Linked DNA regions of Homo sapiens: regions 2, 3 and 4 are each linked to region 1. Evidence: promoter capture Hi-C in 16 types of primary human blood cells and fetal thymus (Javierre and others, 2016). All regions are on one chromosome and are shown on one strand. The core of a region is centred on a gene start or on the middle of the fragment in contact, and the rest is flanking DNA. Distances in the headings are between cores, read along the strand shown. Region 1 holds the start of PTGIS (prostaglandin I2 synthase). Region 2 has its middle 20 kb from the start of SPATA2. Region 3 overlaps SLC9A8 (solute carrier family 9 member A8). Region 4 overlaps SLC9A8 (solute carrier family 9 member A8).

Region 1 (5,284 bases), core at 998-3,497:
CCCCACTACCCACTGTTGACCCTTCCAAGGTGCCCACAGGTATAAAAATCAAAGGCTCAGCAGGGCGCGGTGACTCACGCCTGTAATCTCAGCACCTTGGGAGGCCGAGGCAGGCAGATCACCTGAGGTCAGGAGTTCGAGACCAGCCTGGCCAACATGGAGAAATCCTGTCTCTACTAAAAATACAAAAATTAGCTGGGCATGGTGGCACATGCCTGTAATCCCAGCTACTGGGGAGGCTGAGGCAGGAGAATCACTTGAACCCAGGAGGCAGAGGTTGCGGTGAGCCGAGATCGTGCCATTGCACTCCAGCCTGGGCAACAAGAGGGAAGATCCATCTCAAACAAACAAACAAACAAAAAAAGAGCCCATAACGTATTCACATGATGGAAGACTCCAGAGAGGATCAAAAGAATGGATTCGATCTCCTTGTAGCAAAAAGATCTGCTTGTAGCAAAAAGAACAGATGTCAAAACTAAAATCTGGAGTGAAAAGAGCAAGCAACATAATGTCTGAAAACATTTCTATACAGTGTATTGAGAAAGCCTGACAGGAAAAATAATTCATTTCTTCCCTGAGACATTTATTCACTGTCTTTTTCTTTTCTTGTTTTAAGGCAAATGATTGACTACACAGTTGTAAATTTCAGCTGAAAAGATGTCTGGAGGTTGAAGAAAAATACAGTGAGCTTATTGTTTGAAAATTCAACTACCATATTGTTTAAAAATCAAAAAGTTCCCAAGGTTTCCGGAATTTTCAGACACGAATGTAAACTAACTCTCTCTTACGTGGCTCTGTATTAGCTACAAGCTCATGTCTATGTATGTAAGAGTAATTTTTATGTAAGAGTAATTTTTAAAACATCTGGGAGACTGAGGAGGTATGAAAACTAAAGGCAATGTGGTAACTTGGGGCCGGATCCTGGAACAAAAGAGGACAGTAATGGGAAACTGGATAAAATCCCGTGAAGTTTGAAGTTTAGTTAAGAGTAACGGACCAGTGTTGGTTTTTAGTGGCGACAAATGTCCCATAACAATGTAAGATGTTAACAATAGGGAAAACGGGGTGAGAGAAATACAGGAACTTTTTGTACTATCTTTGCAACTTTCTGTAAATCCCAAACTAGTCTCAAATAAAAAGTATATTTTTTTAAATATGGAAGGTTCTACCCAGACTCAGCAACAGGAGAGGCCCAGAGAGGGAGAGAGGACTAGACTTCAGGGGCTGGGGGAGGGTTAAGGGGCTTCGGTCTTACCTATAACAGGATAAATATTTGTGTTAAGTCGAATGTATTCAGCTATTCCTTATGCAATTCAAGTTAACTTAAAAAATATTTTATGAAAAGGAGAGCTACAGCTATCTCCTTGATTTGAGGCTGTCTTTACTTTTTCTCCTAAATCACAGATGCTCAATGGAGCTGGAAAACCTTTGGGACCAGGAGGCTGTGACATCTGACCCTGGCTCCGTTCTGTCCAGGCTGTGGGACCTCAGGGGAAGGTAGAGACTTCATAGGCCTCAGTTTCTCCCTGGCAAATGAAATTACTAAGCCCACCGACCCCCGTCTTCCAGACGGGGAATCCCGGGGTGGGTGGTTCCAGGGCATGATCAAGACATCCCCCAGGGGCTCTACACTCCGCTGGCTCAACACTCCCATCTGTGTAATGGGTTGAGGAGCGAGGCTATCCCTATAGGACTGCCGAAAGCAAGGCAGGGTTTGACAGCGCGTAGGTGGGTGCCAGGTGCAGGCAGAGGCTGGAGAGTGGAGAGCGCTTCTTCCACCCGGGCCACGCAGAGGCTGTCCCCGCACGGCTCCCCACCCACAAACCCTCGGTCCTCACCTGAAACCCCCTCCTAGGTCCCTGCCGTCGCGCTAAGGGCCAGACTCGGACTTGTCGCGGTGGGCGATTCGCCCCGGGGGACCTACCGGACCCCGCACCTTCCCACCTTGCACCTTCTTGGCAGGGGGAGCACGGCCTGGCCCCCTCACCCACGTGCGGGGCCCCGGGACTCCCACCTCCGAGGGTCTCGCCTTGCCCGGGATACTGGAGCGGGACTCGGGCCGGGCCGGCCGCGGGCTCCGAGACCCTTGGGCTGCAGCCCGGGCGGGAGCCGCCCCCTTTGTCTGGCGGGGCCGAGCGGAGCAGGACACTCACCGCGTGCGGCGGCGGCTCAGTAGCAGCAGCAGCAACAGTGCGGCCAGGAGGCCGAGGAGCGCGGCCCAAGCCATCGCGGGGCTGGCGGGGCTGGCGGGGCTGGCGGGGCTGGCGGCCTGGCCCACTCCCAGGTAAAGTTCCCCGCCCCCACCCGGCGCGCCCCTCCCACTCCGCCCACCCCAGCCCGCTTTGGGGCGGGGTGGGGGGGGTGGGGGATGGGGCCCTCCGAGGTCCGCAGGGGTCGGACCGGGGCGCTCTGTTAGAAACCCTGCTCCCCCCAGCTCAGGCCTGATGGAAAATGTGGGAGGGAGGGGAGGGGAGAAGGAGGGGGAGGGGGAGGGGGCGGAAGGGATGTGGTGGGCTGGGGAGTGATCAAGGGGAAAGGAGATAGATGGGGGACTGAGGGGGATGTGGTGGACTGGGGGGTGATGGAAGGGAGGGGAGAGGGAGAGGATTTACAGGAAGGAAGAGATTATATGCGGGGAGGGAAGAGGGATGGGGAAGATGGGAGAGGACTTTTGGGGAAGGGAAGAGGAGGGAATGTGGGAAGACGGCGGGACGATGGGGAAACAGCCAAGGAGGTATGGGGAGGAGGGGGCACAGTGGGAGGAGAAAATGTGGTGGGAGGGGACGAACATGGAGGAGGAGTGTAAGGGGGTCAGGAGGAGCTTTCCCACCACATTCCACATTCCACCTAGACAGAGGAAACCCCCCAAGGCTCCTCCTCACCCCATCCCCCACCCCAGGCGTGCTGGGGACCTGGAGTTTTCCATTCTGTGGTCTGGGCTGGGAGGGCTGGTCTGGATTATATCGCACCCTATAGTATCTTCAGTAACTACTGGGCAGGGGGTACAAGGGTGTCTCAGGGAGTCCCCTCATCCTCACCTGCTTTGGGGACAGATAGTGCCCGTGAAGTATGCACCCTCTACCTGGTGCACGTTAGGGCCTCCGGATGTGGTGGCCATTGTCATCGCTACCTGGTGCTTGGGGTGCCAGCCCCCTGTGCCCGCGGCTCTGCAATGTACCACCCCAGGGTGCTGATGAGAACTGGGGGTCAATCCAGCCTCACTCCACGCCCCTGCCCCCACCATCCCCATTCCCACCCTGGGAAGCGTTGGGCAGGTAGCTCAACCTCTCTGAGCTCACCTCATTATCTGGAAACAGGGAGGGCAGAGTTGTGCTTACCTCTGGGGCTGTTGTGAGGAAGTGATGAGAGCTTGACACTAAAAGGAATCACAAACTGTTGAGTGCTTGGCACACTAAGTTTTATGAAACCATGGGCTGAACCTGGAGGTAAGACCCAGGAGGTCTTGTTCTAGTCCTGTATCCACCCATTCAGTGCCGGGTGAGCTTAGGCACGTTTCATTCCATAGTCCCAGCAGAGCTCTGGAGAAGCTGTTGCTCCTCCTGGTCTCCTGGCTTCCATCCTTATCAGCCAGGGTCCTGACAAGGCCCTTCGAGAACCAGCATGATCCGCCCCTTCTCACCTTTACCTGCCTGACCCTATGCCCCCGACTCTCTCCCTCACCCACTCTGCTCCAGCCACACTGATCTCCCCATCTTTCCCTAGAGGTCCCACTGCAGGGCCTTTGCACGTGCTGTTCCCTCTGTTCGGAGCATTCTTCGCACAGCCTGCTCTTTCCACCACCTCCCCGGTGCCTCTATCTCTGCTCAGCTGTCACTGCAGAGAAGCTGTCTTTGGCCACCTGGTCTAAAACAGTCATCTCCTCTTACTGATTTTTGTTTCTTTGTTTTTTTGATAGTTTTTTTTTCTGGCAGTACTTCACATGTCCTGCTATCATACTCAAGATTCATTCATTTGCCTGCTTAATGTTGGCTGTCGAGGCAGCTGGATGACCCCCTTGTGGCCTCAGCAGATTCAGAACAGCAGGAGGCAAAAGGAGTTTTCTGATCCTCTTGTTTATTTTTCCAGCTTATCTGCCAGAGAAGCCAACAATCCCAAGAAGGCCATAGAACGGGTCCAGAGGATTTTCTCCAAATTTGGGGAGCTCCAAAGGGCTGTCTGCTAGCAGTGGGGTTCACAGCTGGGCTTGGCCGATCCTCAGCTTTGTGACCCCAAGCAGACTGCTCCACCTCCCTAAGCTGAGGTTCCTCATTGACAGAATGGGGAAAAGAGAACCTCATGGAGTTGAGGTCAGGAACAAACGACCTGGTCCATGGGGCACACCTATGTGAGTGCCTGTCACACCATGAGCATCAGGGAAAGTTAACCGCAATTAGCGCTTATACCAGTTCCGCTCCTCTCCATTATCTGTGATCAGGCTTGGTCTCAATTTTCCCATCTGAAAAATGGGAAGAACAGTTCCTTCCTCATGGGGCTGCTTTGAGAACTGAATTAAATGAAAAGAGAATGAAATCACCCAGCACAGGGTCTGGTATACAATAGGTACTCAATAAATATTAGTTCTTCTACTCCCCACCCCTGGCTTCAGTGCAGACCAATATCACCTCAATACAAATATCTCTTCCAGATACTCTCTTCCCTTCTCGACCCATAGACAAAATCCTCCCAGGGAAGGAGAGGCAGCTGCTCACACACCAAAGGGAGATGAATGTGAGCCTCTGGTTCTTCCTGGATTTGTTCAGGAGTCGGCATATGTTTAGGAAGGTGGCCAGGCCCCCTTCCCAGAGAATGACCCACCATGGGTCTGAGCTGGTCCAGGAAATCCACCTTTGCTAGTGATTTGTCCTGAGGTGGGCACCTTCCAGATATCTGTTGCGGGCTTCTAGAAAAATGTGTTTCCTTCCTATTTGCCTTCTCTTCTGCTTTGGGGGCAATCGTGTGGGAATGTGATTAGTGGGGGAGCTGAGGGGGGCTGTAGTGTTATGAGGGAAGGCCAAGAAAACTGCAGAGCCCCAAACCAGAGCTGCGGAATCACCATCCCTGGAACCACCTGCCTATAGATTTCTCATTTAATGAGCTAACCACACGTCTGTGCTAGGACACCATGAGTCAGATTTTTCTAATACTTGCAGCCAAAGACATTCCCAACTGAGACGCCTTCTAGATATGGCTGAAGGGAGGACCAAATGAGGCAATGATGCATCCGGAGCACCTCTGCAGGACTGGCCCATGCGAGAATTCAAAAGTGTTGCTTTGTTTTATTATT
Region 2 (5,284 bases), core at 709-3,208, 330 kb after region 1:
TGAGGAGCATGTGAAGCTCAGCCCCCAGCCAGGCTCAGCTTCTCCTCACGATGCTGGGAGCCCTTCCTCCCTGGGTTCGCTGGCTGTTCGCCCAGGCTGCAGGGCCGCCTGACCTCCTGCTCGGGGCTTACAGATCAGTCCCCCACAGGCCTTTGCCTGATGGTGAAATGGGGAAATTCTGTCACTGAACCTGCCCTGCCGCAGGAGCGGGGGCATCCATAGCCTCTGATCAGAAGTGGTGGCATGTGGGGCAAGAAGGGTCGTGAGTTCATCTATACCCCCACGTACTTCCAAAGGCATCCAAGCTGCTGAAGGTAACAGGCACGAACCAAAAATGCATGTGATGTAAAATGAAACCAGTCAGGAGAAGCTGTCCTGGCCCCAGCCAGGGGGCAAGAGCTGAGTTTCCTGGTTCCTTCCCACACTGTGCTTCAGCCCACCCCAGGGGAGACTCCCGAGGCCACAGTGGGCTCCCCGTGGCCCGCTTTTGGTGGAAACCCAGATTCAGAGAAATATTTCTCCACCATAATAAAAACTGCAAGTGTGATGAGAAGTGGTAGCTGACACTTGGCCTCAGTGTCAGGGAGGCACCACGAGAGTGATAAGGACTCTGGCTAACAGCAGAATTTTCCAGGCCAGCCCTGCCTGCGAGGGCGGCTGGGAAGTGGAGCTGCGCTGTGCTGAGCAGAGTGTCAGCTGGGACGGAACGGAGTGCTGGCAGCAAAGGTGGGGGGTGGTCCTGAGTGGGCACCTCGTTCCCACGGAACAGGGTATGTTTCATTTGTATTTCAACCTTCTCAACTCCTAAAAAAAGCTCTCAGGGTAGAGGGGAGCAATCGAGGCAAGAAATATTTTCCTTAGAGGCTAGAAAGCTGGCGGGGGGTTGGAGGGTCACACACAAAGTTGAGGGTCCTGTAACCCCCGCTTATTATTCCACAGGGCACTAGGGGAATGAAGCTGGCCTGGAGCGGGGCCCCACTGCCTCTTGGAGGCAACCCCCCCACCCCAAGCAAGGGACAACACAGCCCTCTGGCTCTAGCCAGAGAAGATGTGAGACATGAAGGGCAGTGGGGGTCAGGGGCCAGGGGCCAGTACAGTCATCTCAAGGCCCTGGGTGACAGTAAGTGCCCCGTAAATGAGGGTCCTCTTTGTGAATATTTATGGACCTGCAGGAGAGCAGGCAGGCATCAGCCACACTCCCCCTGCCTGGGGAGGCCGCCTGGCAGACCTGGGGGGTCTTAGCATCAGTTGGGACCAGTCTGGTGCTGGGGACAGAAGGAACCTCTGCGCATACAGGCAGCTGCCAGCTAATACCCTGATGTAAATGGGGAAGAAAATAAGTCTTTGCTTACAGAAAAAAAAGGGCACAAAAATGTAGTTGGTTCATTTTGTGGCGAAGATGAGCCATACGCTCCTATCTGCTGGTGGGAGGGCAGCTGGCTCACACTCTCCAGAGGACACTGTGGTGACAGCTCTCCAAAGCCTGAAAACGGCCCAGCAGTTCCACTCATGGGGCAAAAGGAAAGTGCATGAAAACCGCACTCCAAGAATGGTCATCCCGGCAATATCTGAATGAGGATAAATGGAAAACAACTTCCTTGTCCATGAATGAGGGACTGGTGAGATAAATGATGATAGAATATTTACCAACAGCTCAAGATTCTAAGGATGTGGAAAAATGTTTAGAATGTTATCAGACCAGCATTTTACCACCTTTAGGGAGAGAGAAACATTTCACCCTCTCCTTAAATGCTGTTTGAGATTTTAAAATGACTAAAAACGAAAGTAGAAATTTTAGTACATCCTTTTATACAAATACACATACTGGCACTCCAGCGCGCACCCATTCATCCCTAATATGGAAGACCTGGTGGTTCCTTTCAACCACCACTTCTTCCCCGAGCCCTGTTGTCTTTGCTAAGAGAACCCATGTGGTTCGTGTAATGGGTGACTGTATGCTTCAAGGGGAAACAGAGCCAGTTCTCGGTTCAGGTTGTTCCTGGTCATTCCCTCTACTTGTCTGAGATTGGCTGAGGAATGGGTCTGTGACCTTATTTGGCAGGAGAATGAAGCGATTAAAAAAAACAAAACAAAACAAAACAAAACAAAAAAAAACGAAGTCTCGCTCTGTCGCCCAGGCTGGAGTGCAGTGGCACCATCTCAGCTCACGGCCACTGCAATCTTCGCCTCGTGGGTTCAAGCGATTCTCCTGTCTCAGCCTCCTGAGTAGCTGGGATTACAGGTGCCCGTCACCATGCCCAGCTAATTTTTGTATTTTTAGTAGTGATGGGGTTTTGCCCTGTTGGCCAGGCTGGTCTCGAACTCCTGACCCCAGGTGATCCGCCCACCTCGGCCTCCCAAAGTGCTGGGATTACAGGTGTGAGCCACCGCGCCTGGCCTGAAGCAATCTTTTGAGGAATTTCTAAAACTTTCCTTACTCTCAAAAAGACACTCAAGGAAGGGACATGTTCTCTTCCCATTGTCTGACCTTTGCCTCCCATTACTTGAGGATGTAATGCCTCCACCTGCTGCAGCCATTTGGAGACCAGGAGGGAACACCTTGCCACCATGCTGAGGATGGCAGAGCAGAAAGACAGAAGGCTTGTATGTTGTCAAGGACACTGCTGGAGCAGTTAATTAACCAGTCCTGGAACTGACCTCCCTCTGGATCTCATGACATGGGGCAATACATGTTCTGTATCTGCCATTTCTGGTTGGGTATTTTGTTACAACAGAAATAATGCTGTTATAACTTCATGAACTGAGAAAAGCAGATTTCAGAACCATATCAATAGATGTGGCTCTATAAATTAAATTAGCAGTATGTGTATACAGGAAAAAAATCTTAAAGGATAGACATAGAGTTTTAACTTAACTTTGGTTCTCTCCAAGTGGAAGGATTATAGGTAAATTTTTTTTTTTTTTTGAGATGGAGTTTTGCTCTTGTTGCCCAGGCTAGAGTGCAGTGGCACGATCTTCGCTCACTGCAACCTCCATCTCCCAGGTTCAAGAGATTCTCCTGCCTCAGCCTCCCAAGTAGCTGGGACTACAGGCCCCTGCCACCACGCCTGGCTAATTTTGTATTTTCAGTAGAGACGGGGTTTCACCATGTTGTTCAGGCTGGTCTTAAACTCCTGACCTCAAGTGATCCACCTACCTCAGCCTCCTAAAGTGCTGGGATTATAAGCATGAGCCACCGCATCTGGCCGATTATAGGTAACTTTTAAAATCTTGCTGTTTGCATATACTTTCTATTTCTCTCATAAAGAATATTTATTAAGTCAATAATAAGGAACACACATGTTCTTTGACCAGAACTAGAGGAGCAGTGCATTAGATGGAGTGACTTGAAGGCCCCTAGGGAAACAGGTGAGGGTCCAAACTGATGCAGTCACCACGGAGAGGCCTGTGGCCCTTCCACCCACGATTCCTCTTCTAGCCCTGGGGCAAAGATTGGCAAATTACTGCCTGTGGCCCAAATCCAGCCCGCCTCCTGTGTCTGTACTACCTAAGAGCTAAAAATGGTTTTAACATTTTTTAAAGGTTGGGGAAAAAAACAGAAGAGTAAGGCCAGGTGTGGTGGCTCACACCTGTAATCCCAACACTTTGGAAGGCCAAGGTGGGAAGACTGCTTGAGCCCAGGAGTTTGAGACCAGCCTGGGCAACATAGGGAGACCCTGTCTCTCTATATATAATTAAAAAAAACTAGCCAGCATGTTGGTGTACACCTGTGGTCCCAGTTACTCAGAAGGCTGAACCCAGGAGGTCAAGGCTAAAGTGAGCTGTGATCGTGCCACTGCACTGTAGCCTGGGTGATAGAATGAGACCCTGTCTCAAGAAAAAAAAATCACAGATTCACAAGAAGTTGCAAAAAAGATAGTACAGAAAGGTCCCATGTACCCTTCCCCCCGTTACCCTCAGTGGTAACATCTTGCACAACTACAGAATAGTTTCACAACCAAGAAACTGGCATTGCCACAGTCCACAGATCTTGTTCCAACTTCATTAGTTTTACAGGCACTCGTGTGTGTGTGTGTTTAGTTCTACGCAATTTTATATCGTGTAGATTCGCATAACCACCATCACAGGGAAGTTGCCTTTTATAGAAGTATTCCAGCTGCCAAACAAAGAAGAAATCATTGAATTGGAATATCTCTATTTTGTAACTTCCAGTGAAATAATGGATCTAAGTGGGAAGTAACAGCCTTAATAGCTGCTAATTCCCCAAAGGGAGAGAACTCGACATAATATGCCTCCTGATGAGAGAATACGCATCAAGTATTCTTACCACAGAGATCAGACCCAAATCCAAGCAAACCCCAACAGCCAGCTACCATGCAATACATGCACACATTCAACACCCTTTCACGATCAAAACACTCAACCACCTAGGAATAGAGGGAAACTACTGCAACACAATACAGGCCATCTAGGATAACAGCTGACAGCATACTCAATGGTGAATGACTGGAAGCTTATCCTCTAAGATCAGGAACAAGGCAAGGATACCTACATTCACCACTTCAATTCGACGTAGTACTGGAAGTTCTAGCCAGAGCAATTAAGCAAGAAAACCAAAGAAAAGATACCCTGGTTGGTAAGAAAGAAGCTAAAATTATCTCATGGATGACATGATCTTATATGTAGATAACCCTGAAGATTCCACAAGAAAAAAACTGTTCAAACTAATAAATAAATTCAGCAAAGTTGCAGGATACAAAGTCAACACACAAAAGTCAGCTGCATTTCCATAAACAGTGGACAATCAGAAAAGGAAATTAAGAAAAAAATCCCATTTATAATAGCATCAAAAAGAATTAAATAGGAATAAATTTAACCAAGCAGCAAGAAAGACTTGTACACTGAACACTATAAAACATGCTGAAAGAAATTTTAAAAGACACAAATAGGGCCAGGCATGGTGTCTGACGCCTGTAATCCCAGCACTTTGGGAGGCCAAGACCTCCCAAATCACTTGAGGCCAGAATTCAAGACCAGCCTGGGCAACACAGTGAAACCCTGTTTCAACAAAAAAAAATTAAGAATTAGCCATGCGTGGCACATGCCTGTGGTGCCAGTTACTTGGGAGGTTGAGGTGGGAGGATCTCTTGAACCAAGAGTTCAAGGCTGCAATGAGCCATGACTGCACCACTGCACTCCAGCCTGGGTGACAGAGCGAGACCCTGTCTCAAAAAAACAACAACAAAACGATCTATACTGCCCAAAGTGGATCTACAGATTCAATGCAATCCCTATAAATGGCATTTTTTACAGAAATAGAGAA
Region 3 (5,284 bases), core at 1,851-4,350, 300 kb after region 1:
TTTTTCGAAGTGACTGTATCATTTTACATTCCTCAGAATGTATGAGAGAGTGCCAGTTGCTTCATATTGCCACCACACTTATTTTAATTTAAAAAAGTTTAGCTGTCCTGATAGGTGTGTAGCAACTGCATTTAGATGTGCTTTGGTGTGGTTATTTTTATATTCGCCTTGGGTTCATTGAGTTTTTTGGGTTTATAGTTTATATGAGTTTATAGCTTTCATCAAATTTGGTAAGCTTTTGCCCATTTCTTTATCAATATTTTTTTGTTCCGCCTTCCTCTTCCCCTTGAGACTTCAGTTTACTCCAGTTATGAGAGGTAGCATGCTATTGGCCCACAATATGCTTTGCCTTTTTTTCTTTTTTTCCCTATGTGCTTAATTTTGGTTATTTCCTGTTGCCGTATCTTCAAAGTCACTGATCTTCTGCCATGTGGAATCTCCTGCTAATCCTACCCAGCGTATTTCTCATTTACATATTTTATAATTCATCTACAGCAGATCCCTTTAGGTTATTTTCATTTCTTCCATTTCTCTCTTCATCATGTTCATGTTTTCTTCTATATTCTGGAGCATATGAAACATAGAAATTTCTGATAGCTGTTTTAATGTCCTTGTTTGCTAATTCCGTCATCTCTGTCAACTGTAGGTCTGTTTTGTTGTTGATTTTTCTTGTGCTTATAGGTCACATTTTCTTGCTCTTTGCTTGTTATTAAGTTTTGATTGGATGTCAGTCATTGTGAAGTTTTATGTTGTTGAGCACAAGATTTTATTGTATTCCTTTACGGAGTTCTGGACTTTTCTTTTAAAAACAATTTTTTTTGTGTGTGTGTGTTATTTCTGGACTTTTCTTCTGGCACGTATCTAAGTCTCTTGACATCAGTTTAATCCTTCTTGAGGCTTACATTTAAACTTTTTTAGGGCTGGTGCAGAGTAGCAGGGCCCTAACTAAGGTGTCTCAGGTACCGTGAGCTCACTCCACTCTGGCTGGTGGGAACGCAAACTATTCCCACCCATGTCAGCTTCTGGAATTGTTCAGCCTACTTCTTTTTAATGGTTCTTTCCCCAGCTTCTTGTTTCATCCGACATATTTACTGATCAGTATCAGTCAAAGACTCAAGGGGACTTTACAGTAGATGTCCAAGAGCTCTCTTTCTGTGCAGCTTCCCCGACTCAACAGGACAGCCCTCTTAAAGCCTCAGCCTCAGGCAGTCAGCTCAGCAGGGGGCCTAGGGAAAGAGTGGCCACCTTTGTCTCCCTTCCGGCAGGAATCACAGTCCTACCCTATCTTTTGTCCCATGTCAGAAAATAGTTTTGTTTCATATCTTGTATCAGGTTTTCTAGTTATGTAGAGCAGGACAGTGTTCTGTGTAGCAGTAATTTCTTCAGACGCAAAGCTGAAGGCCCAGTGGTCTCTAGTGACTCAGTTGACAGAACTTTTCTACCCAGTCGCTATCCGGAGTCACACTTGGGTGCTGCATGAGCAGCACAAGGAGGAAGCAGAGTGGACTCACCATTTTCAGGGTTTTGTTTTTCATCGCAGACCAGTTCACCAGGGTAATTCCATCCTGGTGTCTGCCATGAGGTTCCCTTTCTTTACTGAATGTTGGCACTTACAAAAACGTTACCTGTGAGTCATTCGGCTCTAGCCTAGCTATTTTTACATCTGTTTTTCTAAATTGTTCCTCTACCCCCTTGAGAAGATCATTGAGTACCTGTTGGCAAAGATGTGTTTCATGCATCTGTTTGGAATCTGTGATTAAAATAAGGGAGTGTTTTTCTTACCTTCTTTTCAGACTGGCAGTGTTTCCTGTTGAGAGGGGTTTCATTTCCTTAGGGACCTTGCTCCACACACAGCAGTGCAAGCCAGGAACACCAGATCTGCCTCTGGGTGAGGGAACCTGCTCTGTCCGCACTTTGCCTTTTGGGTATTTGTCACGCAGGGTTTTCAGAGAGGGGCAGGATGGCCCTGTGTGGTGTGTGGACGCCCCACATTGCACTGTGAAAGCACAGATGGAAAGGGTGGTTTCTGCTGTCTTCACCTTCCTTTGTGTGCTCCCCTTTTCCTGACTATCACAAAGGACTGATCTCAAGTGGTTCCCAAGACCATGGAGCAGGACATTCTCTTCCTAGGAAGTGGGAATTATTTACCTAAATCCACATGTAGGGAACACAGTTGCTAAGGACTGGGGCTGGATAACAGACAGACTTGGATTTGAATCCCAGCTCCACCTCTTATTGGCTGTGTAACCTCAGATTACAGACTTAACCACCCCATGCTCTACTTCCTCATTATAAAATAGACAAAAGGGCCAGCCTGACGCCTTTGCTGAGGAGTGGGGAGCGATGCAAGTGAGAGTCCTGATGGGGCATCTGTGCCACTGCTGGGGTGGCCAGAAGTCCTGGTTTGCCCTCTGTCTCAATATGATGAATTAATAATATCCCCGTTTATTCTAAAAAATGTCCTGGTATCCACAGCAAATCAAACAGTCTCCCTAATTATAACTCAGCAAGCGTTAGCTATTCTCAGAATATTTGTTCTGACTGTATCCATGTTAACTATTTTTATTGTTCAGTCAAGCCAGTTTTGAGGGCCACTTTGGCCTCTGACACTAAAGATTCAAAGATGAATAGACCCCACTTAGGCAGAGCAGTTAGCGAACACTGGGCTTGCAGGGGATGGGAGAGAGTGACACTCTGTCAAGGTGAGTCACAGAGGAGGGGACTTTGGGCTTGAAGGATGAGTTTGCAAGATTAATCATGAGATAACACTTTCTTTCTTTCTTTCTTTCTTTTTGAGGCAGAGTTTCGCTCTGTAGCCCAGTCTGGAGTGCAGTGGTGCCATCTCGGCTCACTGCGACCTCTGCCTCCCAGGTTCAAGCAATTCTCTGCCTCAGCCTTCCGAGTAGCTGGGATTACAGGTGCCCACCACCACGCCCGACTAATTTTTTTTTTGTATTTTTAGTAGAGACAGGGTTTCACCATCTTGGCCAGGCTGATCTTGAACTCCTGACCTCGTGATCTGTCCGCCTCGGCCTCCCAAAGTGCTGGGATTACAGGCGTGAGCCACCGCGCCCGGCCAACATAACACTTTCTTAAGATGTTGGCATGGGCCAGGCGCAGTGGCTCACACCTATAATCCCAGCACTTTGGGAGGCCAAGGCAGGTGGATCACGAGGTCAAGAGATCAAAACCATTCTGGCTAATATGGTGAAACCCCATCTCTACTAAAAATACAAAATATTATCTGGGCATGGTGGCACGTGCTGGTAGTCCCAGCTACTCGGCAGGCTGAGGCAGGAGAATTGCTTGAACCAGGGAAGCAGAGGTTGCAGTGAGCCGAGATCCTGCCACTGCACTCTAGCCTGGCGACAGAGCAAGACTCCATCTCAAAAAAAAAAATAAAATAAAAATAAAAAGATACTGGCATGAAGTTGGCCAAAGATAGAATGTATGGTGCAGTGCTCTTCTGCACAGATATCTAAGGAATTCCATTGCAGCACTGCTTGGGAGAGAAAAACTGGAAGGAACTATATGTTCATCAGTAATGGAAAAGATCAAATTCCAGTCCATTTGCACTATGGAATCCTGTGCAGCTACTTAAAAAATGAACTTGACCTGTCTGTACTGCCATGGAAAGAATTTGACATATTGTTAAATTTTTTAAAAGTAAGTTGAAAAATCAAACTCTCGCCCATTCAAGAAATACTTATTAAATGTCCACCCTATGCTGAGAACTATCCTTGCTGTTGGGGCTACATTTATAAACAACACAAGATCAGTTTCCTTTTCTTGCAGAAGAAAGCCAGAATTTAAGCAAACCCATACAACAATTCCAGGTGGCAAGAAATGACAAGAAGAGAAATTAAAGCCATGTGACAGAGAGTGGCATGTGGTAGAGAATGGATGGGATCTCAGGCAGTCAGGGAGGTCTCCCCTGGAGGTGGCACTGGAGCCCAGACCTGTGTGGCGAGAGGAGCCAGCCCAGGGACGCTCTAGGGAAGGAGGGTTTTGGCAGCAGGAACTGCAGGAGCCAGGGGTCTGAAGATAGATGTGCGGGAGTGTGGCATGCTCCAGGAAGAGAAGGAAGACCAGTGTGGCCAGGACGCTGCCTCACAGGTTCTGCAGGCCTGAGAAGGAGCTGGGTTTCTAGTATATGCACCACGACAAGAGAGTTGGAAGCCCTTGAAAAAAAATCACTCTGCTGGTAATAGGCACCATATATGTGATAGGATCCTGTTTATTACTTTAGTTTTATTTTATTTTAATTTTATTTTTTGAGACAGGATCATGCTCTGTTACCCAGGCTGGAGTGCAGTGGCACAATCACGTCTCACTGCAGCCTTGACCTCCCCAGGTTTAGGTGATCCTTCCACCTCAGCCTCCTGAGTAGCTGGGACTATAGGCACGTGCTACCACACCCAACTAGTTTTGTATTTTTTGTAGAGCCAGTCTCACTCTGTTGTTCAGGCTGGTCTCAAACTCCTGGGCTCAAGCAATCCACCCACTTTGGCCTCCCAAAGTCCTGGGATTACAAGTGTGAGCCACCATGCCAAGCCTATTACTTTAAAGATAAACTTTATAATCACATGGTAAAAGAACTGGCAGTCTGCATATTGAAGTGTTAATAGTAGTTAAGAGTAGTTACGTCTGAGCGGGCAGTATGAATAGATTGTCTTTTACTCTGTACCTCAGTGAGTCTGAATGTTTTATGGCAAAATATGTTTATTATTGAGTAATTAACACAGCGTACTCATTACGGTTTCACTCAGCCCTCAAGAAGTATGTTATATTTTACATACAGTAAGGCACGGTACAGTGTAAATTGTACCATGATACCTTTTCACTGCCTTTTGGACTTGAATCCCATACTGTCTTCCTTTATTACATCTAGAACAGTGGATGTAACCATAAACAGAAGTGGATTTCCTCTCTCCCTTTCTTTTCTGCCATTCTTCCTTCAGGAGGCTGAACGCTTTTGCTGCATTTGCTTTCTTAAACGATTTTGCCTAATTCTTAAAGGAAATTCTTCCTTAAGCGTATTTTTTCAAATACCATGCCTTTTACCTCACTTAAAAAAGTTATCCTGGTTTGCACCAACCCCCGCTTTTGTGTTTCTGTAGCCTGCTCCACTGGCCGCAGATGAGGGTGATGTGGGTGGTGGAGAGTCCCCTTTGCTTCTGGAGGGCATATGAGGCAGATACTTGAGCCATCCCTCTGGCTTTTGTGCCTGCTGCTGACCCTCTTTCCTTTCGCCTAGAACTCAAGGTGCCCTGACCCCACACTA
Region 4 (5,284 bases), core at 1,301-3,800, 280 kb after region 1:
TGAAACTTCTATCCACTTTCTACCCTCGCCCAAAGATGATAGGAAGTAAAGTTTGAATATTTTATTTTAATATTATGATATCTGCTAATGTAAATTTGGATTTAGAATACAGATTACAGTAAGATTATCATCAGTTGATATGCATTAGCTAGGCAGCAACTGGTTCTTTGAATTGCAAATATTACACAAATCACAGGATGTTAATTATGTCAGAGAGAAACAGATAAATTTGCTTTATGTAGCAGAGGGAAGTTCTTGTATTATGGTAACTTTAACTTGGGTAAATGTTCAGGATCCAGATTAATATTAACCAAATATATAAATTATATCAACATTAGATCTCTGCAAACAGGTCAAAACTGATTAATCTGTTTTTTTTTTTTTTTTTTTGAGATGGAGTTTTGCTCTTGTTGCCCAGGCTGGAGTGCAATGGCACGAACTCGGCTCACTGCGAACTCGGCTCACTGCAACCTCGGCCCCCTGGGTTCAAGCGATTCTCCTGCCTCAGCCTCCCGAGTAGCTGGGATTACAGGCGTCTATAACCACACCAGCTAATTTTGTATTTTTAGCAGAGATGGGGTTTCTCCATGTTGGTCAGGTTGGTCTCGAACTCCTGACCTTAGATGATCCACCCGCCTTGGCCTCCCAAAGTGCTGGGATTACAGGTTTGAGCCACCGAGCCCAGTCTAATCTGTTTTTAAATAACAAAAGAAAACAGCGATTTGCAAAGAGCAACTCATAGATTGAAAGCCCTTTGTTTTGAAAAACCAAATCATTGTGTTTTAAAATTCTTTGTGCAGTAAAGATTGATATGCCAAACAAAGGAATTGAATGTCAGATGATAGGCAGCCAAGTCAAAATTGCAGCTTCTAGGAGGTGGGCTTAGTGGGGCAGTCAGTGTTCAGCTGAGGACACTCTTTCACAAGTGGGCTTTAAAATAGCAGGTCTTGATGTCCATGGTTTGGTGATTTCTGAGCTAAAAACAAGATTCTTGTTCACAACCACAATCGGGGGTGATCAAAGACTCTTGGTAGCTCCTAAGTGGAGTTCATAGGGTTATAATAAATAGCTTAATTTCCTTAATTTTATGGAAATTTGAAAGATGCTACCATGCTGCTTGAACTTGAATATTTTATCTTAAACGCTGTGAAGTATAGATAGAAACATTTTATCTGACATAGTTAATGATGATACTAATAGAGTGAAGTAAAATTGTTTAAAAGACCTGGCCAGGAAAAAGGAATATCTGATAGTGTATCTTGGTATCCTAATAGTGTGGACTTTGGATGTGAAACACAGTTAATTCCTTCAGTGCCTGTCTGTTGGGCATCTTCCATCTGACGGGCATTATGTCAGGGACCGTGTTGTGCGAAAGCAGGTGGGGTCATTGCCCAGAATGAGCCTGCAGCCTCATGGGAAAGTAAGACATCAGTACATAAATAAGTGCAAAATTGCAGTCTTGTCAACCGCTACAAGAGAGGGTGACTGTGCACTGAGAGCACAGACTAGGATCTGGGAAGAGTTGAAATGTCCTGAGATCTTGGGATGATGAAAGCTTAACAAGCAAAGAGGGAGCACAACCTGCTCGAAGCCACCAGTGGGACTGGAACCCAGAGAACAAAGGCGAGCATGGTGCCAGATGAGCCCAGAGGCCTCCCCAGGAGTCGAATCATTCAGGGTGGGGGCTAGCTGCATTTTAAGTGGAAATAGGGGTCCAGGTGAAGGCAGCACAATCAGATTTGTCTTTTGGGAAGATCATTCTGGAAAGACGGGAGAGTGGAGGGAAAGGGGCCCTGGGGGGTTGAGGAGACTTGTGCGAAGCTATGCAGTGTTTCAGATGAAAGATGGTGTGAGTGACGGGACACTGCAGTAAGTGCGGGGGTGCAGGAAGACTCCCGGGCTCCCAGCTTGCCACACAGGTTGGGCAGTGGTGCCTTTTACAGAGAATCAAGTCTGCACGGAGGGCCAGGTGTGCAGGCCGTGCCTTCACTGACAGGAATGGCTTTTCTAATCATTTCCCTGATTTCTGCTCTTTCAAACAGGGTAACTTCTTTCAAAATATTGGTTCCATCACCCTGTTTGCTGTTTTTGGGACGGCAATCTCCGCTTTTGTAGTAGGTGGAGGAATTTATTTTCTGGGTCAGGTAAGAAAATCATCTTTGAAACACTTTGAAAGTCTTACATTCTTAGAGCTAGTGCAGGGAGGTGGGAAGGTGAAATGGGGCCACTTTGTGGGGCCTGGGTTTCACCCTTAAGGTAAATTCCTTCTGGAAGGAAATCCTAGCTTCATATGAGGCACAGTAGAGGCGTGCTAAATTGTTTCAAAGTGTCCTCCAAGACCTTTGGTATCTGGAATTGAGTAAAACTTTTCCATAATCCCCCCCAAAGTATTTGAGTTTATTTGCAAACCAATACTGTCTTAAATTAGAATACCTAAAAATGAAGCCAAATATATGCCATCAAGAACTTCAAACTGTGTTGTCAAGTAGACTGAATTGGGGTTGAATGCTGTTTTTTGATAAAAATTTGTATTTAAAAAATCAAAGATGTGCTTTTCTGCTGGCATTGGAGAAATAATAAAATCAAAGGTGATGCTGAATCTCTTCACTCAATTCTAAGCTGTCTACCTGTAGAATTATATACTCTGGATTTTCCACAATTGCTAAACCACTTCCCAGTGGCACCAGTTGGGTGGTCTCTACTTTAGACTTCAAATTAATTTAGACCAAACATCCCTAGGAAGGTAGTATCTGTAGTTTTGTATTATGCATGTCCATGCATGTCACATTCTTTTCCTTTATTGTCAGTTGCAGAAAGTTTGCCTGTCTCAGTTCTGAAAATTAAGTTGAGGGTCAGGTATCTGAGTGACGGGCAGATTTCTTTAACACATCAGCTGCTTTCTTCTCTCAATAGCCAAAGCCCATTCCATTGGATTTTCACCTATATTGCAGCTTTGATGGCACCAGAATAAATCTGTCTGTCATGCAGCTTTCTTCATTGCTCAGCTTCTAGTATTAAGTAAGAATAAACTTAAGGAAACTACAGTTAATTGGGCTTGAAGAATGTAGCATTCTTTTCCATACTCTCGTTGCATGCCGATGGAATGCATGTTTCAACTAAGGCTTAGGAGCTTTTATTTTTCAAGTGGTTTGGGAACTGAAGATTAATGTCCTTATTAGTTTTAATAAAGCACTAATGGACATTTAAATCTTGGCTGTTCTCCAGGGTTTTTTTTTTGTGTGTGTCTGTGTGTTTGTGTGTTTTATTTTACAGGCTGATGTAATCTCTAAACTCAACATGACAGACAGGTAAATCCTTCATACTGTAACACCCATGCGACTGCTTTTCAGACAGGGGAAATGTTTCTCCACATTGCTTCCTGGGTGTGGTACTGTTCTATTCTCTCTCTGTGTATTTATTTTTGGTAAGGATTTCTGCCATAGAATCTTACTCTGAGTTAATTTGTATCTCTGAAATGAATCAAAAGTATCCTAAAGACTTTTGAAGATCCCTAGTGGGGCATTGCTGATTGGAATGATTTAGTTTAAGCTTGGGAGGGAGTAACTCTGCTCAGCTAACTGCCCTGCCTGTGTGCACGCGTACACTGTACCATTGTCTTCTTATTTACAAGACTTTTCAGTCGCCGTAACAAAAAGTCTTCTTGACAGATTAGAGATGGAGAGGGGGAGTGACGGAGAAACTTTCCTCTGGGATTCCCACGAAGCCTGTGGTGGGGGAAGCAGGGCCAAGACCTCTATTGTGGTTATTGTAGAAAGCCCCTCCATCTGAAGCCACTCCCGTGAGCACTTCCCATGAGCCCCATCCAGGATTTCCCAGAATTGCATAGTGAGAAGCAACCTCACTAGGTTGAGGCAGTTGTCTCTCAGAAGGTACCAGATCTAGTGCTGAAAAAGTGCCCATGCTGAGCATAGTCTGGGTTCCCCCCTCTGAGAGCAGACAGCCTTGCTCAGTGTGTCTGCATTTGGTCTTGTGACATGGCTGGGGAGCTGGGCAGCAGGGTCACATGTTCGTCCCCAGATCCTTGCCATGGGGCCAGTCAGAGCTTTCAGGATTTAGCAGCAGTTTAGCAACTTGGGACTAGAATCTGGGAACCCTTTTCATGGGAACTGTGTCTCTGATAACAAATCCAATTCTATTTCTACCTCCACTCACCACCCACCCCAGCCCAGGACAATTTTGGAGCTTTTGTTGTAAGACAGTTTTGATACATAAACAAGTAGTCCTATTCCATGAGAGCTGGAAATAAAGCAGAACTGATGTCCTGTGTTTGGTAGGTATTTTGCAAATAAAAAGAAATGCCCAGTAAAGGAAGGTATCACAGTATTCAAACCTTCCACTTGTTTTGGGGGCAACTGGTTAGAGATACAGACAATGCTGGATAACTTCCTGTGAAGTTGAATTGAATCAGTGGTTGGGATGTTCAGGTGGAGGACAGGAAAGGAATTGCCCTGTAGACACACTGACTTAGAGCCGGGTAGTGTTTTCCTCTCCGTGTGCAGAAGTTTCCTTTGCTGTTAGAAAGTGACGATCCCTCAGATGGGGACTGCTCTGGGGTCGCAAACCCACACAGCCGCAGGGCCTGGCAGAGCACTTAACAGAGGGAAGCTGGCCAGCTGTGAGTCTAGACATGGGGCAGCGGCCAGTGGGAGAACACACCCTGTATGAAGGGACAGCCACTTCTCAGCGCCAACTCATGATTACCATGTGGAAATCTGGGCCCAGAATTGGTGGCTATTTTAAATACTTTTTTTTCAAAAAGATGCTGGGTTTCTAGATTTTTATAGGGAATTTTCCAGTTTTTCAATGTTGACAACTTGCTCAATTTTTCACAAATACCATGCAGACCAAACATGAGAGGGGACCACAGACTTTTTGCAACCTCTGCACTGTAGAAAACATAAAAATAACTTCGTTGCACACGTTTTGTTTTGTTCTAGTGATATCTTGTTGGAGAGAGATTTCACTCTTAGAGATCCTGAATTATTTCGCTGCCTTAGTTCATTTCTTTTTCATTTTGTTAATGTTGCTATCTTTTGGGGCTATGGGATAAAGAAAATACATTTTTAAGTTGAACTTCTGGCGTTTAAAAGGCGAGGTCTTAAAGATGTGAAGTGGAACAGCTGACAGCCAGGTGAAATAACCGTCTTTCCATACAGACCTCTCAATGATTCAGCAGTTTGTATTTCAGACTTCTCATCTTCACTGTCAGAAATACTCTGCCTCAATTTAGATTCCCAAGCAAACTGTGTAACATGATTTATAC

Evidence for each region. Contacts are between HindIII fragments. The CHiCAGO score rates a contact against its expected background, and 5 or more counts as called.
Region 2: a fragment that was not itself captured here is called in contact with the fragment with the promoter of PTGIS in region 1 in 3 of 17 cell types (erythroblasts, M0 macrophages and megakaryocytes); the score reaches 7.7 in erythroblasts.
Region 3: a contact is called between a fragment that was not itself captured here and the fragment with the promoter of PTGIS in region 1, in 3 of 17 cell types (erythroblasts, monocytes and naive B cells). The highest score is 6.6, in erythroblasts.
Region 4: a fragment that was not itself captured here is called in contact with the fragment with the promoter of PTGIS in region 1 in 6 of 17 cell types (endothelial precursors, M0 macrophages, activated CD4 T cells and 3 more); the score reaches 6.8 in endothelial precursors.

Annotation. Positions count from the first base shown.
Region 1 is chr20:49,565,890-49,571,173 of GRCh38, forward strand. It overlaps PTGIS (prostaglandin I2 synthase), which reads right to left and starts at 2,248. Exons shown (of 10, transcript NM_000961.4): 1 at 2,154-2,248. The coding sequence starts at 2,227. It overlaps LOC101927486 (a long non-coding RNA gene), which reads left to right and starts at 2,155. Exons shown (of 2, transcript XR_244188.4): 1 at 2,155-2,284. RefSeq lists enhancers at 2,548-3,164, 3,165-3,779. The HindIII fragment of the contact is 14,656 bases long and covers 1-5,284 here.
Region 2 is chr20:49,892,429-49,897,712 of GRCh38, forward strand. No RefSeq gene overlaps it. Among named protein-coding and RNA genes, the nearest start is that of SPATA2, 20 kb to the right of the region's middle. RefSeq lists an enhancer at 2,139-2,308. The HindIII fragment of the contact is 5,027 bases long and covers 1-4,472 here.
Region 3 is chr20:49,866,444-49,871,727 of GRCh38, forward strand. The region is part of intron 10 of SLC9A8 (solute carrier family 9 member A8); the gene reads left to right. Among named protein-coding and RNA genes, the nearest start is that of MIR12122, 5.2 kb to the left of the region's middle. RefSeq lists enhancers at 1,307-1,416, 1,657-1,706. The HindIII fragment of the contact is 5,734 bases long and covers 234-5,284 here.
Region 4 is chr20:49,847,537-49,852,820 of GRCh38, forward strand. SLC9A8 (solute carrier family 9 member A8) reads left to right here. Exons shown (of 16, transcript NM_015266.3): 6 at 2,043-2,144; 7 at 3,274-3,308. Among named protein-coding and RNA genes, the nearest start is that of MIR12122, 14 kb to the right of the region's middle. The HindIII fragment of the contact is 1,994 bases long and covers 1,554-3,547 here.